2 separate regions of the Homo sapiens genome follow, and region 1 is linked to region 2. Evidence: promoter capture Hi-C in 16 types of primary human blood cells and fetal thymus (Javierre and others, 2016). All regions are on one chromosome and are shown on one strand. Each heading gives the region's core, a stretch centred on a gene start or on the middle of the fragment in contact. The rest is flanking DNA. Distances are from core to core; before and after follow the strand shown. Region 1 overlaps PSMD1 (proteasome 26S subunit, non-ATPase 1). Region 2 holds the start of ARMC9 (armadillo repeat containing 9).

Region 1 (2,704 bases), core at 170-2,669, 110 kb after region 2:
GGGTATGTGGAAGCTAACTCTACCGGCTGTAAAAAGAAATAAATGGTTCCTGTTCTTCACTGAATTTCTCTATCCTAGGGTGGCCACACATACTCACAAGGTCTTATCCCTTACAAATGAGGGTGCTCCTTGCAGTAGGATTTTAGAAGTTGCACCTGAATGGCTTTAAGGACTTCCATTTATATGGGACTGTTATCCCATCCCATATCCTTCTGAAAAGCTAAGTGAATCTAGTGCTAGGTTATGGCCTGTTGGGTCCAGTAAATGAGAATCACAACCTAAGACCACTGGTGGTGGTCATGCGCTGTGGATGCTGGAGTCACCTAGACACTTATTGTCCATCTGCAAGCTTTTCCGTCCACCCCATTCCCAAGAAAGGTCAGAGTACTTACAGCAACATGTAGCAGGCGTCGAATTGCTTTGTTGTTACCAGAGCCACAATAAGCCATGGCTACAGTATACATTCCAGACCTTCGAAGAATTGGGTCCTAAGAAAAATAATTTAACATTAATCATCAACTTATTTCAAACAGTTAACTTCTACAGTCTAATAGGCATAGTGGCATCCACCAAGTAAGCTGGTCTCAGATAGGAAATGATGAGCTCAATAACTCTTTTGTGGTTGGTAGTTTTTGAAATAAATGGGGCAATAAAACACATAAATACAGAAGGAGGTAGCTGCTCTTAATTCCCAATACGCTATGCAATATGCCTGCCCTGCTTCATACTTTTTAGGAAGTATAAAGTCAAGTCAACAGCAACAGCCACTCCTATGGCAGTCCACTTCCTTTTAACAATCAAGCAAGGAAGTTGGCTTCTAATTCTACATTTTTACCTTATTTAAATTCCTGGGTACTGAGTGCTGAGTGGAAGAAAGATGGAGCCTGGTAACTGAACAAATTAATTAATAATTTTATCAATAAACTATAGCAGTGGTTCTTATTGATTATAGAGGACAGTATTACCTGCCACTAACTACCCACCATATACAACACCATTATAAAAACTAAACAAAAGGCAATGGAAAAAAAACCTCACCCAAATAAACAAGTATAGAGATTGGTACTGTTTTCTGATAAAAGAATAATGAAGTAAACTTTGTATCTTATTAAATGACTATCAAATCATTCCAAAAATATATATATATATATTTTTGAGATGGAGTCTTGCTCTGTCACCCAGGCTGGAGTGCAGTGGTTCAATCCCTGCTCACTATAACCTCTGTCTCCCAGGCTCAAGCAATTCTCATGCCTCAGGCTCCCAAGTAGCTGGGATTACAGGTGTCCGCCACCAAGCCTGGCTAATTTTTTTTCTACGTTTAGCAGAGACAGGGTTTCACCATGTTGGCCAGGCTAGTTTTGAACTCCTGACCTCAAGTGATCCACCTGCCTCGGCCTCCCAAAATGCTAGGATTACAGGCGTGAGCCACCACGCCTGGCCCAAAAATTATTATTTCTAAAAGAAATCAACTCGTGAATTCCTAAAGAACTATGCTGAATCTGCTTATGAGTATCACCGATCTGAAGCTATAGCAAAATTTAAAATCCTCAAATTACTCCCATGTACCTTTTCTAATCAGTGCTTTTATTTCTTAAATTCTATTAGGCTTCATATACATTGCCAGAAGTTTTATGAATAAGTGTACCTACATGTTCTGATGGGAACAGAGTTAATTTCCAGTGAAGTTAAGTGTTTTTTACATGCTGGAGATAAATGGACAGTGAGGGACGTATGTGATCTCACCTTGTCACGACAGAGAGATTCAATGAGAGCATCAGCCTCTTCCATCCTCCCATACATTACTAAAGCTATGCCAACTGCAAGACCACGCAGAATCTTCTCATGTTGAGTTTCTTGTGCATAACCAACCATGTCCTCAATAGCCTGAGCATTTTTAGAGCCCAACATAACCAAACCTAGGGCCAGGCCAGCTGCTTCCCCTGGCAAGTAACGAGTAAAATGTTAACAGAGAGTTATGTTTTTAAAGTCAGTAAAACATCCAACTGAAAGTAGCACTCTTTTTGCATAAACTATCAAAAAAATCATTAGCTTCTGATAGCATTTTTTTAAACCACCTGGTAAAAAGGATACTTTATGTGGAAGCACATTCATACATTTAGGGTTCGCACATTCATATTTAGGGTTGTTTTCCTTTTAAACTTTGACAGAATGTACCATCAAATCCTACAGTGATTTCAAAGGAGACATTTAGATAACATTTTTTCTATATTATCGCCAAGCAGTATGGAGTAAGCAGATCACCCTAATAAATTCCTGTTTGCAAAAGTCAGTTATGAAAGTGGACACACAGGATATACCATTTTAGAAAGCCTATATATCACAAAACTTGTTTTAAAAGATAACTTTGACAAATGGAGCAAAATTCACTTCCTCTTCAACTAGAGAAATCCATCGGAATTTTAAGAGGCTACAAAATATAGGTAGAAACTAATGTAATTACATTTACATTAATTAATACTTAAGCTTGTTAGCTTTAGAAAGAAATGCTTACCTGTTACTGCATCATCCTGATAAAGGTTTGTTTTTAGCAAATCATAAACATCTTGACGTGCAGTTCCCATGGCTGCCAAACCAAGGCCCAGACTGCCACCGTGTCTAACGATCTAAGGAAAAAACATAGATTCCATTGATTTGGTACACTGTACTTAACATACAAGTTTTTATTCTAATTTCAAAATACAGT
Region 2 (3,018 bases), core at 418-2,917:
TAATGAATAAATGAAGCCGGAGCTGAGGGGATGTCATTTTAAAGGCCCTGGAACGGGAAAAGTGAGTTTCTGAGAATTTGAAACCTTGAGGCCAACCTCAAGGCCTTTGCGCATATTACTCTCTCCGCCTAGAACACTCTTCCCTCTCTTCACCTGGTTAACCACTGTGCCTAATAAACATCACCTCCTTAGAGTAGACCTCCCTAAGCCGTTTAAATAGTATCTGCTGTGATCAACTGTCATTGAATGTGAGTGCTGCTGGGTATCCTATTACTCAACATTCTTAGAAATTACAGAATTGGCCAGGCACAGTGGCTCACACCTGTAATCCCAACACTTTGGGAGGCTGAGGCAGGCGGATCACCTGAGGTCAGGAGTTCGAGACCAGCCTGATCAACATGGTGGAACCCCATCTCTACTAAAAATACAAAAATTAGCCGGGCGTGGTGGCGTCTGCACCTGTAATCCCAGCTACCAGGGAGGCTGAGGCAAGAGAATCGCTTGAACCCAGGAGGTGGAGGTTGCAGTGAGCCGAGATCATGCCACTCCACTCCAGCCTGAGCGACAGGGAAAGACTCCGTCTCAAAAAAAGGAAAAGAAAAAGAAATTACAGAATTTTCTCTAAACTTTTATATCATAATAGGTATCATTTATTGAAGGTATATGGTATGCCAGGCAATGTGCAAAATGTTTTACATTTAACCTTCATAGTAAACCTGACAGGTGAATATAGTTTATATTTTCCCATTCCAGATGAGGCAATTTGAGGCCCAGGAAGTCTGACACACTCCCAACAGCCACAGTAAGTGACTAAGCGGCTGAAAAGAACCACTACACAGTATTTCCCAAAGTCTGGACCACCTAAATCAGAATCAGCTGGCACGCTTGTGCAAATGAAAATTCCTGCCTCCACCCTGGTCTTACTGAACACCGTGGCAGGCACCATGCCCAGAAATCTGCCTTTTAAACAAGCTCCCTGAGTGACTTTTACACACTCTCAAGTTTGAGAACCAGTGCTCTCCTTTATGCGGAAACTAAGAAAAACTTTTCCAGTTACATTTGGGGATTGCAGCGGCAGCTTTTGAATTCCTATATAAGAAAGATTTAGGGCCCACAAACGGGTGGGATTATGGGATTTGTATGGAAGCCGAATCTGCATAGCACGCATCCTGTTTTTCCTAAGATTAGGTGAAGTCTGGACTTCAACTGGGTGCCTCAGGAACGCGGCTAGCAGATGGAGATTATCAGGGGGATCTAAATCCCGGATAACCCGCTCGCGCCGCCACCACCAGCTGGATGGCTTGAGGGACCCCCTCCAAGTATGGCCCACTGCAGCAAAGATCAGGGACTACTTGCGGGAAGCAGCTGGGCCTGTCCTTTCTTGGGATGTCCAGGCGGCCGCCTCGGCCCTTGCCGAAGAAAGATCCCTGGACCGCAGGCGAGAAGTGGTAGCATCCGGCGGCGGCGGAGCGGGCGCGTCGGGTTTTTCCTCGGAACAAGAGGTCCGCAGAGCCTCGGCCCTCCAAACGCACCGCTGCTCCTCCCAGCACCAGGACGGCGGGCGGAGGGTGGCCCGGCTGCATCCGGGGACGCGCTTACCTGCTGCTCGGCCGCGGACACTCGCGCTATCCCAGCCCGGCCGCCACCTCCGCAGCCGTCACCCGGGCAACCGCCGCCGCCACCCCGGCGTCACGTGGGGGCGGCGCAGCCAATCGCGCGGGGCGCCGCCGACGCGGAGCAGCCTGGGAGGGAAGGTGGGCGACCCCGAAACTTCCTGGCGGCGGAAGTGAGGGTCCACAGCCCAGCAGTGGTGAAGGTTCACGCGCTGGATGACCGCGTCTTCTGTGGTCCTCTCCACCACTCCACTTTCGTTCGTTCATTCATTCGTTCATTTCCCTTTCGTTGCGCCAGTCGCTGCGCCGGCTCTCGGGATGAGCCGGAGCAGGCTCAACCCCTTGTCTCAAGGAGCTCGTGGTCGCGTAGAGAACACAAACTAGGACAGTGTGGTGTCCGTGGGGAAAGAGTCAGGCATGGTTATTCCCATCTTAAAGGAGGGACCTGGGGCCACCTTAGAACCAAAAGTGACGCCCAAGATGTGCATTAAAGCTCCGGGGACCAGGGTCCCGCCCCACTGCAGCGGTTTCCAAGGATTTCAGAGAAACTTTTTGTTTTCCATGTCAAATGTGGGCTATTAAAAATAAATCAGGAGCACACGTCTTCCCTCTCTTTGCACCTGATGCTTTTGAACTGAAGTTCATCAGCACTGAATGAGCACTTGCTAGTCACCCAACTTTGTGCTGGAGGGTGAAGAGATGGCCATGGATAGAAAATCCCTCCCCTCCAGGCGTTGAGATTCCGTGGGAGTCTCTCGTTGCCACCTCAGTGTTTCCACCTCCATGCTTCCAAGAAGGAGGAGGCTACCAGGGCCAGAGACAGGGAATGGGGCACGGAGAAGGTAGGTCAGCTCGCCTTTGAAGAAGCCCTAAGATGGGCTGTGGCCACCACTTCCCCAGTCCCCAACCCTGCCAGTGGATTGTCTTCCAAAAGAAAAAAAGCTGTATTTAGTAGAAGAGAGCCCTATCTTCTGTCCAGGTAATATGGATTGAAAATAAATCTTCAATCCATGGCCATAATATTTATCGTCAACACAACTGTATGCCGGGAGATGCCAGACAAAATATAGAACACACAGTTAAATGTAAATTTTAGATAATGTTTTAGTGTAAGTAAATCCCAAAAACTGCTTCATTTTATTGTGCATGTAGGATGTTATATTGTTCTGTATTTTTGTTTGCAAAACGTGCAGCCTATATGTGTGCCCAGCATTGTGCTAAGTGAATCATATAGATTGTTTTCTTTAGTTCTCACACCAGGCCCGGCACGGTGGCTCACACCTGTAATCCCAGCACTTGGGAGGCCAAGGCAGATGGATCACCTAAGGTCACAAGTTTCAGACCAGCCTGGCCAACATGGTGAAACCTGTCTCTACTAAAAATACAAAAATTAGCTGGGCGTATT

What was found. Contacts are between HindIII fragments. The CHiCAGO score rates a contact against its expected background, and 5 or more counts as called.
Region 1: a contact is called between a fragment that was not itself captured here and the fragment with the promoter of ARMC9 in region 2, in 1 of 17 cell types (M1 macrophages). The highest score is 5.0, in M1 macrophages.

The regions. Positions count from the first base shown.
Region 1 is chr2:231,082,803-231,085,506 of GRCh38, reverse strand. It overlaps PSMD1 (proteasome 26S subunit, non-ATPase 1), which reads right to left. Exons shown (of 25, transcript NM_002807.4): 13 at 2,513-2,624; 14 at 1,744-1,940; 15 at 393-488. Among named protein-coding and RNA genes, the nearest start is that of PSMD1, 27 kb to the right of the region's middle. The HindIII fragment of the contact is 2,135 bases long and covers 352-2,486 here.
Region 2 is chr2:231,197,280-231,200,297 of GRCh38, reverse strand. ARMC9 (armadillo repeat containing 9) reads right to left here and starts at 1,667. Exons shown (of 25, transcript NM_001352754.2): 1 at 1,600-1,667. RefSeq lists a silencer at 1,522-1,861. The HindIII fragment of the contact is 12,461 bases long and covers 1-3,018 here.